Linked DNA regions of Homo sapiens: all the other regions are linked to region 2. The links are contacts of gene promoters, found by promoter capture Hi-C in blood cells and fetal thymus (Javierre and others, 2016). All regions are on one chromosome and are shown on one strand. Each heading gives the region's core, a stretch centred on a gene start or on the middle of the fragment in contact. The rest is flanking DNA. Distances are from core to core; before and after follow the strand shown. Region 1 overlaps MOB1B (MOB kinase activator 1B). Region 2 holds the start of RUFY3 (RUN and FYVE domain containing 3). Region 3 overlaps MOB1B (MOB kinase activator 1B).

Region 1 (4,424 bases), core at 389-2,888, 240 kb before region 2:
GTTCCATTTTGAACATATTCACTTTGAGATCAATTTAGACATCAAAATAGTGTTATCAGGTAGAGTTTTGACTAATTCGTGAAGCCTGGGGAGAGATCTCAACTACAGTGATGAATGCAAGAGTCCTTGGTAGGTAAATTTTTATTTTATTTGTTTAGAGAAGAGGTCTCCCTATGCTGCCCAGGCTAACCTCGAACTCCTGGGCTCGAGCCATCCTCCCACCTCAGCCTCTGGAGTAGCTAGGACTACAGGTGTGAACCACCACTCCCAGCTAATTTATTTTATTTTATATTTTTGTAGATACAGATTTTGCCCAGGCTAGTCACAAACTCCTGGCCTCAAACAATCCTCCCACCTCAGCCTCCCAAAATGCTGGGATTATAGCGTGAGCCAATGCACCTAGTCTCTCCTTATATTCTTCAGGATTATTTTTTATTATTCTATTTTTCTCCTGTATTAGCTAAGTAATTACACTTTCACCTATTATTTGGATATAGATCTTATCAATAATTCCCTTTACTCCTCTATGAACCTGAAATGTTTACTGAATCACTGCCAGTGACTGGAAGTATCTGTCCTGACTCCAACCCTATTCACCTACTTCATCAAGTGTCATTTGGGAAGATTGCTATAAATAAGGAAAATTTTAAATCCAACACTTCAGTTAAATGTTGTATTTTCAAAGCAGAGTATGCCCTAAGCAGATGTTCTAATGCTTCAGTCCAAAGCAATCTTTGTCCAGCTGTAGTAAAATCATAGAACTACTGTGAAATTTTAAGAGTTCTCAAAGTTCTAGGCGTTTCAGTAGTACAGTAGTCCTCCTTTATCTGTGGTTTCACTATCCATGGTTTCAGTTATCTGTGATGAACCATGGGCTGAAAATATTAAATGGAAAATTTCAGAAATAAACAATATATAAGTTTTAAATTGTGTGCCATTCTGAGTAACGTGATGAAATTTTACAGCATCTCACACCATCTCACTCCGTCCGCTTGGGATGTGAATCATCCCTCTGTCTAGCTGTATACCTGCTCATTAATCACCTATAGTAGCCACCTTGGTTATCAGAGTGAAGGATTACAAAAAGGGTTAAGTAAAGCACAATAAGATTATTTTGAAAGAGAGAGACTATATTCACATAACTTTTACTACAGTATAACTGTAATTGTTCTATTTTATTAACAGTTGTTAATCCCTTGCTGTGCTTAATTTTAAATTAATCTTTAATAAATTTTAAATTAAGCTTTATGAATTAAGCTTTATCATAGGTACGTAGTGTATAGGAAAAAACACAGTGTACAGAAGGTTCAGTACTATCACCGGTTTCAGGAATCCACTGGTCATCTTGGAATGTATCCCTAGCAGATAAGAGAGGTACAGACACTCAGTTGTGGCAACTGAGAAAGAGACAGAATACAGACAGAAAATTATTTGCTTTTATATTTAAAAGTCAGACTCTACTGTAATATAGAAGCTCTATACAGCCTTCCTTACATTTTAAACATGAGTAAATGAACTCTCAAATTTTACAAAAAGGCACAAATTAGTACAAAAAGAACGTACACATATATTGGAGATTCATTCTGAATATTGTCTTGGAGATGACACAGAAACATCTTAGAAATACGGCAGGCCTCATCAATAAAGCAAACAAATCACTTTATTTCAAATAACTAGACTCTCTTGGTCCAGGAGGATAATCACATAATAATAACATGGCTCTTGTGTAAATGCTGTCATGGTAAGTTTTAAGACATCACAATAAAATCCCCTGGTTCCTAAAAGGTATTAGAGGGGGGCAGCTCAATTTATAAATCCCATGACATAGTTCAAATTATAATAAGAGGCCATTAAATATAAGAAAAATACTGTTTTGCATTTCCTTAAAGCCTAGACATTTTGTGTATGCTTTCAATGAAATTTCATTTTATTTTTACTAAATTCAAATAAATTTCCTTTAATTATAAAATTCTATTATTACTATTTTTTTCACTAATGTTGAAAAACGCTGAAGCTTTTATTCCTCAACTTTCTCTGGCTTAATTCCCAAGAATATAATTACTATTCATACGTTATTCTCTGTAGGAGTTAAGAACATCTCATAAATATATTTTACTAATTTCATAAGATGACTACTTGATATCTTTTTTTAAAAAATAAGCACAACTGGCCGGGCGTGGTAGCTCACACCTGTAATCCCAGCCCTTTGGGAAGCTGAAGTGGGTGGATCACAAGGTCAGGAGTTCGAGACCAGCCTGACCAACATGGTGAAATCCCATCTCTACTAAAAATACAAAAATTAGCCGGACATGGTGGTGCGTGCCTATAATCCCAGCTACTCAGGAGGCTGAGGCAGAAGAATCGCTTGAACCCAGGAGGCAGAGGTTGGAGTGAGCCGAGATCATGTCACTGGTACTCCAGCCTGGGCGACAGAGCAAGAGTCGATCTCAAAATAAAAATAAAAATAAAAAAAGCACAATTAGACAAATAACTGAGTATGCCACTGAGAAAGGCAATTTAGTATAGTGGTTGACTCTATAGACTCTGAAATTCTATAGCTGTATATTTGATCCCAGGTTCTTCCATTTAATAGCTATATGACCTAGGCAAGTTACTAATTGTCTCAACTTAATCTATTAAACCGAAATAATAATCATACCTACATCATAAGGTTATAAAGATAAAATAAAATCATCCACGTAGAAAGGAGAGTGGTATGTCTATACAGTGTTTGACACATGAAAAATTATTATAATGAAGATAGTAAATCTATGCTTTGTATTAAAATAGGAAACAAGATTTCATAAAATTCCATATTCAGAAATAAAATAACAAGGACTGGATGTGGTGACTAGTGCCTGTAATCCTAGCACCGTGAAAGGCTGAGATAGAAGGATCACTTGAGGTCAGGAGTTCAAGACAATCCTGGACAACATAGTGAGAACTCCATCTCTACTAAAACATGTTTGTAAATGAGCCAGGCAGGGTGGTATGTGCCTACAGTCCCAGCTACGCTAGAGGCTGAGGGTGGGAGGACTGCTTGAGCCCAGGAGTTCAAGGCTGCAGTCAGCCATAACTGAGCCACTGTACTCCAGCCTTCCAGCCTGGGTGACTGAGTGAGACCCTGTCTCAAAAAGTAATAATAATAAAGTAAATAAAGTAACATGAAGGTTAAAGTTAGATTGAGATATCACTCTTTTATGATATTAGCTTACTAACTAAATCCTAGAATGGACAGCACCAACACTCACCAACAATGAGGCTATTACCCTAATTCACAGGCTACTGAGAAATAAAAAGGCTACTTACTGTTAACTGCAACCCATTCATTGAGATCTTCCCCTTCAGGAAGCATGACAGCCATCCGAAGGTTGCCACTGCCAAGTGTGGCTTCTGCGTGTTTTAAGAGCTCATACTGGTGAGAACCCTCTGGAATGTTCTTCTTTGGTTTAAAAGTTTTAGAAGAGCGACTACCACTATGAATAGAAAAGAAAAAAAAAGGGTTTAATATTTAAGGCATGACATTCAATAGAGTCATTCACCAAGCATTAGACCTAAACTGTATTGGCTTAAATCCCAGCAATAGAATTGCTGTAACTACTGTGCTCTCCATCCAAAACTCCTACAAACTTTCTCTGCTGTGTCTAGTTAACTCACAAAAAGAAAAATTTTTAAGCTGTAACTAACACCTCTTCTCAATAAATTAATGAAAAAACAAAAAAGTACTTCCATGATGTTTTAGTTATTGTATTCCTTTCACTCCTATTCTAAGTCTCTCATTCTAATAAAATAAATTTGTTTCCTTCTTAAAAGAAATATAGAGATACAATTTGATATCAATAAAACATAAAAATCCTGGAACAAGAAAAAAAAGCTACATGTTCAGCCAGGCACAGTGGCTCACACCTGTAATCCCAGCACTTTGAGGCAGAGGTAGGCGGATTACCCAAGGGTCAGGAGTTGGAGACCAGCCTGGTCAACATGGCGAAACCCCATCTCTACTAAAAATGCAAAAAAATTAGCCAGGCATGGTGGCGGGTCCTTGTAATCCCAGCCACTCAGGAGGCTGAGGCAGGAGAATCGCTTGAACTCGGGAGGCAGAGGTTGTGGTGACCCAAGATTGTGCCACTGCACTCTAGCCTGGGCGGCAGAGTGAGATTCCGTCTCAAAAAAAAAAAAAAGAAAGAAAAGAAAAGCTACATGTTTTTCTACCCAATTATAGGAAGTATCAGTAATCAATTTTAGTCCAGAATTCTGGTTAAGCAGTTAAGTAGCTAGACATTCGTGTGGCTGGTTTGCTCCAATTTCTGAATGCTTAAGCACACACAGAGACACAGACACAAACACACACAGCCTATGTGTATGTGTATATATACACATAAATATTTTTTAATGGATCAACTGAAACTAGGCTTCAAGGTGGT
Region 2 (4,648 bases), core at 1,258-3,757:
ACCAAACAGCTCACTTTTGCTTATCCATAGGAATCCTGCTCCAAAAACATATATTTGAGGTGTTAAAATTGTTAAAAATTATTTTTGAGACACTGGTAAACTAGATTTCATGATAAAGGGAATATTTCATATTGTATAACTCTCAAATTGGACGGGAATACATTTTTTTCAAACAAAATATGTAAACTGAGGCAGTTGCCAGAAGACTTCTTGGTAGCCTTCTAAAACTGTATTTTTCTTCCCTAAAGACTTTTAAAGCTTTGGAGGCTGTTTTAAGTAGTACTGGAATTGTTGGATGTAACGATGTTTTGATGAAAATATAGAATAAAATAATAATAAAAAATAAATAGTACTGGCATTGCATGGAATTTCAGCTGATGTCTTATAACTTGTGCACATAACGAAACATACAGCCAAAGAAAGCTGTCTAATTAACAAACCAATTGTTAAAAGATGCAAAGGGTCTTAAAAACCACTTAAACATTGTTCTTAAAGACACACCCAAAATGACTGCTTTGTGTTCTGTGTTATTAACCATCCCTAAAACTTTCTCAAGGCTAAGGCTGACTGGGAAGATAAAATGCTTATCAAACACAATGGGAAAATTCTGAGTCATGATAAGATTTCAACTCAAGGTCAAAGGCAGAGAATCACCTTTCCTAACCCCATCTGCTAGGTACAATTCACCTATGGTCTTCTTTGTCCTGTCGATGTGCCTAACTATCAGGCAGATGTTTATAAAGAATTTCTCCTCATATGCAAGCGTTTTTTGTTTTTTTTCATCAGTATAAGGACAGAGAATAAACCTTAGCTAAGAAGCAACTGTATTAAAAACAAAACGATTTGTAGCTATGATTCAAATCAGCTCTCTTTCTGTGGTATTAAGAGAATTAAAGGGTAGAAGCAGAAAACCTCTCATAAATTAGCAAGAGTCCTGGAAAAAAGTCGCAAGTCAAGAGACCACAAAGATCTCAGAGGTACTGACAGTGGAAATCTCAAATGGATCATAATAGTTACCACAAATAATTTATAAAAAGCAATGGCCAATAGATTCCAATATTACCATTCTATTGTAATCTATAGGGATGCCATATTAATCATATTTAACCTTTCCAGGCATTATGCTTTCTTAGGAGTCCATATTCAATAAATAAATGCTGAAAAGTTATTTTCTCATCTAACCTAATAATCCATATTGTTAAAAAAATGTTTTATCAAACATTTCCTAGATGTCATAACTTGCTTAAAATTGTATCCTCATATAATGGTGAGGATACCATTACCAAATACCCTGGTGTTTCTACTGTATTCATCATGTACAATCCTATAATTATAGTCATGTTGTCTTAACTTAGTGTTATAAATCACTACAATTTCTATAACATTTTCATATATGAACAAAATTAATAGCTTTCTCATTATTGAATAGAATCAGATGTGATAAGTGACCTCAAATGTTTTATTTAGAGGCTTAAAGACAAAGAACTCTAAACGAGTATCCAGCATCTTTTGAAAGGATACCTAAAGGGGCAAGAAAAAAAATTATCTTTCCCCCATGAGCAAGAGAAGGGGAGCTGGGTGGTAAGTAAGGATGCAAGGTTTTCAGGACTGTTAACAGTTGAGAGTGTAGGTTCTTTCTACCTCTCCCTGATCCTCCCAGCCCTCCCCCATAACAATGAGGATGCTGGTGAAATACTAGCGGACAGGATCTGACCATACCTTCATGGGTAGGCTCTGGGTCAGGTGTAAGTGAGATGTCATCCAGCTCTCGCAGGCAGAGCCATTCTCCATCCATGGACACTCGGAATTTGCAAAGGTAGATGGTCTCCATGGCAGCCTGTGTGATCTTGTCAGTGGTGGGGGTTGGCATATCGGTCGGAGGCGTCAGAGCAGACATGATGACTCAGCTGGGACCACAACACACACACAGACACACACACACTCACACACACACACCAAAAAAATAAATACAACCTCCTCACCAAAAAAACCCAATACAAAGCTCTGAAACAAAGCTTTCAGGAAAAGGGTGGGGGAGGTTTAAAAAAAAAAAAAAGGAAAAATACCTTATAGGTTAAGAACAAACTGCTCAAGATAAACAATTCTACACTATCTTATAGACAGTTCCTACCACATAGCAAAATAAGATGATGCTTGTCTTCTCCCAGCTTCCTCTCCTTTTATCTTCCCTTCCCTGCCCCCCACCTTTTTTTTCAGCTGAGCTATAGGCTTTAAATCCCGCACAGCTGATGCTGCCTTAGCTGGCTTTAAAAATCTGGCCTCGATATGAGTAAGTGAAAAATCCTCCTCCTTTGTGCAGAAAAAAAATATAAAAGAAAAACCTGAACAAAAAATAAACCTATATTTTCAATGTAGCTTAAAAAAAAAATCCTGAGCTGCAGAAATCACTTCCAGGATCTGCTCAGATGAGCTGGGATGCTGAGTTCTCATAGGATTGGCCGTGCGCAGTAAGCAGGGTGTTGACCAAAATGGCTGACTAATGAACTGAACTGAAAATTCAGGCTCATGTGACCAGCTGCTCTGAACGTAGGGCAAGCAATTCCCAGGATGCTTTATAGATGCTGCTGATGCTGGGAGAGCAATTAGGCTTCTCTCTCTCATCCTGTACAACCCACTTCCAGACTGTGCTAGTCAAACTGTGATCAGACATAACACAATGCACATATCCTCATCAATTCTTCTTACTTTGGGATCAAGGACTGAATAAAAGGATGACAATTAATACCGGATAATAATCTATAGTAAAGATGGTAAAAGAGGCAGTTAGATTAATTTAACAAGCATATAATTCACCTCTTTCATTCTTATCTACATAGCTATTAAAATTCTTTACTATGCTAAATGTTATGTTTTAAGAAAAGCTAAAGCATAAAAAATTGAGGTTCTCAGAGGGAAAAAAAACAAAAAGATAAAAAGAAAAGCTAAAGTAGATTTTCAATTTAAATATCTTATTCTTGGGCATTTATAATTTCCTTCTCCAAGGTACAAAAACCTGACCTTTTAGGTTAGGCAGAAATGCAAAAAAAAAACTTCAAGTTAAAAAAGTAAAATCTTTCCCAATTAATGGCAATTTCCCCCCTTTTTGATTTTGTTGTATTTATCAAGTTTCTGTATTAAGCATAAAATACGTTTCTTTTTTTTTCTTTTTTCTTTTTTGAGACAGAGTCTTGCTCTGTAGCCCAGGCTGGAGTGCAGTGGCGTGATCTCAGCTCCCAGGTCCAAGCAATTCTCTGCCTCAGCCTCCCGAGTAGCTGGGATTACAGGCACCCACCACCACGCCCAGCTAATTTTTGTATTTTTAGTAGAGACGGGGTTTCACCATCTTGGCCAGGCTGGTCTTGAACTTCTGACCTCATGATCCTCCCACCTCAGCCTCCCAAAGTGCTGGGATTACAGGCGTGAGCCACCATGCCCAGCCTTAAGCATGAAATATGTTTCTAAGCAGATTAAACCATGTTATATTTTTAAAATCCTCCCATTCGATAAGATACTGAAGACAATTATATTTTCTTAATACACACACACACACACACACACACACACACACACACACACACACACGGCCCTATATTATCCAATGAGGCATTTATACCTTGGTAGCAAAAGGGCAGGTACTTGCTTTATGAACTACATAAATTACAAAGAGAAGAATAAGAATTTTCTTTGAAAATGTTTTGGACAATTGAAAGAAAGTGTTTGTTTGTTTTTGTATTGAAGGGTTCCAATTTTAAGGAGGAACATACAAATTCAAGAAATATGACCTGAGACTATTCCTTTCTAGGGATTGTTATCAGAGGGACATCTTGATTTACCTAATTTCTGAAAACTAAAAAAATTCTCCTTGAATATTGTTAAAATCTCAAATGCTTCATCATAATTTGAGACTGAACTGAAAGAAAAAAATGCTAATAATCAAATTCTGTAGAGAAACTGGCATTTTCATATTGTTACGAAGACAGGGCGGATGGCTGGGCGCGGTGGCTCATGCCTATAATACCAGCACTTTGGGAGGCCAAGGCGGGCAAATCACCTGAGGTCAGGAGTTCGAGACCAGCCTGGCCAACATGGTGAAACCTCATCTCTACTAAAAATACAAAAATTAGTCAGATGTGGTGGCATGTGCCTGTAATCCCAGCACTTTGGGAGGCTGAGGCAGGTGAATGGCTTGAGCTCAGGAGTTTGAAACCAGCCTGGGCAACATGGCAAAACTCCATCTCTACAAAAACAAAAATTAGCAAGGTATGGTTGCGCGCACATGTGGTCCTAGCTACTTGGGAGACTGAGGTGGAAGAATCACGTGAGGCCAGGAGGCAGAGGCTGCAGTGAGCCGAGATCATACCACTGCACTCTACCCTGTCTCAAAATAAAAAAAAGAAGGAGGGTATACTGGTACAATGTAAGAAGGCATATATATAGGCTTATTTATAATTGGGGAAAATCAGTAAGTTACTAAGGAAAGCAAAATACTCCTGGTTTTATTTCTATCTCATTCTCTCTCATCATTACCCTACATCTAGACTCAGAGCCATTCATTCATTCATTCATTCAACAGATATTCACTAAGAGGTGCTCCACATGCCAGGTAGTGATCCAGGCACTAGGCACGCAGCAGTAAGACAGAAACACC
Region 3 (4,466 bases), core at 48-2,547, 220 kb before region 2:
CCCAGCACTTTGGGAGGCCGAGACGGGCGGATCACAAGGTCAGGAGATCGAGACCATCCTGGCCAACACAGTGAAACCCCGTCTCTACCAAAAATACAAAAAATTAGGCGGGCGTGGTAACGGGCACCTATAGTCCCAGCTACTTGGGAGGCTGAGGCAGGAGAATGGCGTGAACCCAGGAGGCGGAGCTTTCAGTGAGCCGAGATCACCACATTGCACTCCAGCCTGGGCAACAGAGCGAGACTCCGTCTCAAAAAAATAAATAAATAAAATAAAACAAATTTCTTAAGTTGCAGCAGATAAAAGTGACAAAGAAGTAAGCAGAAATTAGAGTATAGTACTGAGAACATATTTCATGTCTAAAGGGGCACCTGGAAATTCAAATCAACCTGTTAAGAAACAGCCACTACTACTGTGTGTGTATGGCATAGAAAAGAAAAAAAAAAAAAAAGAGCCAAAGTAGCCAAGAGAGATATGATAGCCAGATACAAATAAAGAGAAAATCAGACAATGTACATGTGGCAAGAGTTGTCTACTTCTGCAGTCATAGTAAGACAAAATACTACAGTTAAATTTGGTTAATCAAATCCTAAATTCAAAGCTGAGATACATTAAAAGACCAATTAATATTTAATGCCGGGCCGGGCGTGGTGGCTCACGCCTGTAATCCCAGCACTTTGAGAGGCCGAGGCGGGCGGATCACCTGAGGTCAGGAGTTCGATACCAGCCTCAACATGGAGAAACCCTGTCTCTACTAAAAATACAAAATTAGCCGGGCGTGGTGGTGCATGCCTGTAATCCCAGCTACTCGGGAGGCTGAGGCAGGAGAATTGCTTGAACCTGGGAGGTGGAGGTTGCTGTGAGCTGAGATTGCGCCATTGCACTCCAGTCTGGGCAACCAGAGCGAAACTCTGTCTCAAAAAAAAAAAAAAAAATTAATGCCCTAATATTATTTTTATTATTAACCTGAAAACAAAAACGAAAGGAAAATTGTTCATCCATTCGGAATCAGATTTTAGAGACATTTAACTGATAACAATGTTGATACATGGACAGAGATTCATCTTTAATCCTCTAGGATACCTAATACGGGCAAGTCACCACCATGTTAAGCACTGTGGGAAGCTAGGAAAACACATAACAGATATTCCTTGCAGTTCAAATTTGGTGGTTTGTGTTGTTTTCTGACATGGGGTCTCGCTCTGCTCTCACCCAGGCTAGAGTGCAGTGGTGCGATCTTAGCTCACTGCAACCTCCACCTCCTAGTGGTATAGAAGGGAGGCAGAAAAGTGCTGGGTAGACAGAGGAAGGTGGGTCTCTGGAGAGGGCTGGGCCTGTGCCCATGGACCTAGGTGAGGACAGGCACTCCTGCCTTTATGCCCAAATGCTGCATTTCTCAAGACCACCCTGGCCCACCATGGCCCCATCCTGTGCCTATAAAAACCCCCGAGACCCTAACAGGAGAGACACAAGCGGCTGGACGTGGAGAGGAACACATCAGCGGAAGAAGACAAAAGCGGCTGGAGGTCAAGAGGACATCGAGTGGAGCACACCGGCAGGACAGCAAACCAACAGATGCTGGCACTGGGCAGGCCATAAACCAACGGAAAGATGCAGAGACGGGCTAGGGCAGTCGGAGGAGACACTGGGCCACACAGTGGCCAGACTCCAGGGGAAAATCATCTCCCCCTGGCTCCTCCATCTTCTGAGAGCTACTTCCGCTCAATAAAACCTTGCATTCTTTCTCCAAGTCCACCTGTGATCCAATTCTTCTGTACACCAAGGCAAGAACTCCGGGATACAAAAAACTCTCTGTCCTTGTTAGGCAAGAGGTCTCAATGAGCTGATGGGTAAACTAAAAGAGCACCGGGTAACACACGCCCACTGGGGCTTCAGCACTGCACACTCCCTGTAGAGGTTTGAGCAGCAGGACACCAAAGAAGCGAGCCACACCCCCGACCGCACACCCTTTAAGGGGGACAAGGGAACCTTTCCCGTTTCACCACATTCAAGAGATCCTCCCAGCCTCAGCCTCTTGAGTAGCTGGGATTGCAGGTGTGCGCCACCATGCCTGGATAATTTTGTATTTTTAGTAGAGATGGGGTTTTGCCACGTTGGCCAGGCTGGTCTTGAACTCCTGACCTCAGGTGATCCGCCCACCTTGGCCTGTGATTACGGGTGTGAGATTACAGGTGTGAACTACTGCACCCAGACTAGGATTGGGTTTTCTTAGGGACATTAAATCAGTTATTCATCTACTTTATAATTTCCAAAATTTAGTTGTTTTCTCTTTCATTCTTTTTATTTCTATGAGATTATGATTTAAAAAACTTCACTTTATTGTGACTTTGAGTAGGAAGTGGAGGCTAGTGTATGTTTTCAGCCCAACATCTTCAATAGTTTTCTTGTAAGTACTAAACCATTTTATTGTTCTGTTAAGCATTTGCAATTGTGTTGTGTCTAAGTGAAAGGAAATTGTGTTATTGTGTTGAATCACTGCAGTGTATTAGTAGATATTCTTAAAATCTTTTTTCAACAAATTTGATATTTCCTTTTTCCAACTTTGACTGTTCAGCAGCTCTCATTTTTGCAAGAAAACAGATGAATCCAAATTTGAACTGCAAGGGGCCAGGCTCAGTGGCTCATGCCTATTATCCCAGCACTTTGGGAGGTCGAGGTGCTGGCAGGTGCCTGTAATCCCAGCTACCTGGGAGGCTAAGGCAGGAGGATCGCTTGCACCCGGGAGGTAGAGGCTGTGGTGAGCCAAGACTATGCCATTGCACTCCAGCCTGGGCAACAAGAGCAAAACTCCATCTCCAAAAAAAAAAAAAAAACCCAATCCTAAAATTAAAACCAATCCAATTTACATCATAGATCCCACAAAAGATTTAGGGATTTAGGAATTAGTGACGCCTCTAGATGTAGAATACTCTGGAGGTGCAAGTAAAAATACAACAGGATTTTTACCACTCTGTTTAAAAAGCAGTTATACCTCCAGAACCCCTAAACAATCTACACAGTGGGCTTCTGTACCACCCCAACCCTGAGGAAAAACTGAAAGCTAAAGGTTTATTCTATGGAGAGGGCAAAACAGAAGGTCTCTGGCTTAAGAGACACAGGTATAGTTGCAGGCAAGTTTACCATACTTAACACATGGAGATAAAGTGAATCTGAATAATCATGTCGAGACCCCTAGCCTATTCCCCTAACCAGAAACCTTGCAACCAGAGATAATAACCTCCAAACAAAGACTGAAAAGCTCTTTTTTTTTTTTTTTGGGGGGGGGGGGGGGCGGGGGCGGCAAATCTGACCACACCATGTATAAGGACCTGAAAAGATAATCATACCAGGAGTTCTTCAAGGAAATAACCTAGCTATATCATCCTTCAGCAAAGCCCACAGTTGATAAACCCTCCACACTCATGCACACAGAAATCCAATTAGCTTTTTAATTGCCCTACTTATAAATAAAAGCAGAAAGCAAAAGAGTTACCAGACACTGGAAGGAAGCTTCTAACATGAGAGACGACACCAAAATCGAAAAAAGTAACTTGGAGGACAAACTAAATGTTCAAAAAAGCCCAAAAACTATCAATAAAAATCTTTAGCGATAGGAAAAAAAGAATGCTTCATGAACTGAGAACAGAACACCACATTAAAAAAAGAAGAAATTAAATAGGACTCTAGAAATTTTTTAAAAAATGATTGCAGAAATTAAAAATACAAGGAATAGAAAATAAAACTGACGTAATCTCCTAAAACATAAAGTACAAAAACAAAGAGATGGGCCGGGCACGGTGGCTCACGCCTGTAATCTCAGCACCTTGGGAGGCCAAGCCAGGCAGACGGCCTGAGGTCAGGAGTTCAAGACCAGCCTGGCCAACATGGGAAGACCCCTTACTAAAAATTTCCCCTTACTAAAAATATAAAAAATTAGCTGGGTGTGGTGGCTCGTGCCTGTAGTCCCAGCTACTTGGGAGACTGAGACATGAGAATCACTTGAACTTGGGAGGCAGAGATTGCAGTGAGCCGAGATCACACCACTGCATTCCGGCCTGGGTGACAAAGTGAGACTCCATCTCAAAGAAAAAAAAACAGATGGGAAACGAGAAAAAAAAAATTAAGGACCAGTCAAGAAGCCTAATATCCAAGATATAGAAAATTCAGAAAGATAAAGTGTTTTATCAATAAATCAGGATATTTTCCTAGAATTGAAAATGCTCTTTTAGACTAAAAGAGAACCCACAACAGTGCATGAAAATAGATCCACGCCAGAGGATGCCATTATGAATTTAGGAAAAGTTACAAAGATAAGACCTTAAAATAATTCAGAAAAAAAAAAGAAGTCCCATATAAAAGATCAGAAATCAAAAAACCAATAAAAAAGTATTAGAGAACGGGCAAGGTGGCTCACGCCTGTAATCCCAGCACTTTGGGAAGTTGAGGCAGGAGGATCATCTGAAGAC

Evidence for each region. The method cuts DNA at HindIII sites, captures the fragments that hold promoters and counts their contacts. A CHiCAGO score of 5 or more calls a contact.
Region 1: a fragment that was not itself captured here is called in contact with the fragment with the promoter of RUFY3 in region 2 in 2 of 17 cell types (total B cells and non-activated CD4 T cells); the score reaches 7.6 in total B cells.
Region 3: a fragment that was not itself captured here is called in contact with the fragment with the promoter of RUFY3 in region 2 in 2 of 17 cell types (M0 macrophages and fetal thymus); the score reaches 6.0 in M0 macrophages.

Annotation. Positions count from the first base shown.
Region 1 is chr4:70,957,926-70,962,349 of GRCh38, reverse strand. MOB1B (MOB kinase activator 1B) reads right to left here. Exons shown (of 6, transcript NM_173468.4): 2 at 3,310-3,476. Among named protein-coding and RNA genes, the nearest start is that of DCK, 34 kb to the left of the region's middle. The HindIII fragment of the contact is 757 bases long and covers 1,260-2,016 here.
Region 2 is chr4:70,719,823-70,724,470 of GRCh38, reverse strand. RUFY3 (RUN and FYVE domain containing 3) reads right to left here and starts at 2,507. Exons shown (of 18, transcript NM_001037442.4): 1 at 1,720-2,507. The coding sequence starts at 1,897. The HindIII fragment of the contact is 24,519 bases long and covers 2,018-4,648 here.
Region 3 is chr4:70,937,146-70,941,611 of GRCh38, reverse strand. All of the region lies in intron 1 of MOB1B (MOB kinase activator 1B), which reads right to left. Among named protein-coding and RNA genes, the nearest start is that of MOB1B, 37 kb to the right of the region's middle. The HindIII fragment of the contact is 4,430 bases long and covers 1-3,512 here.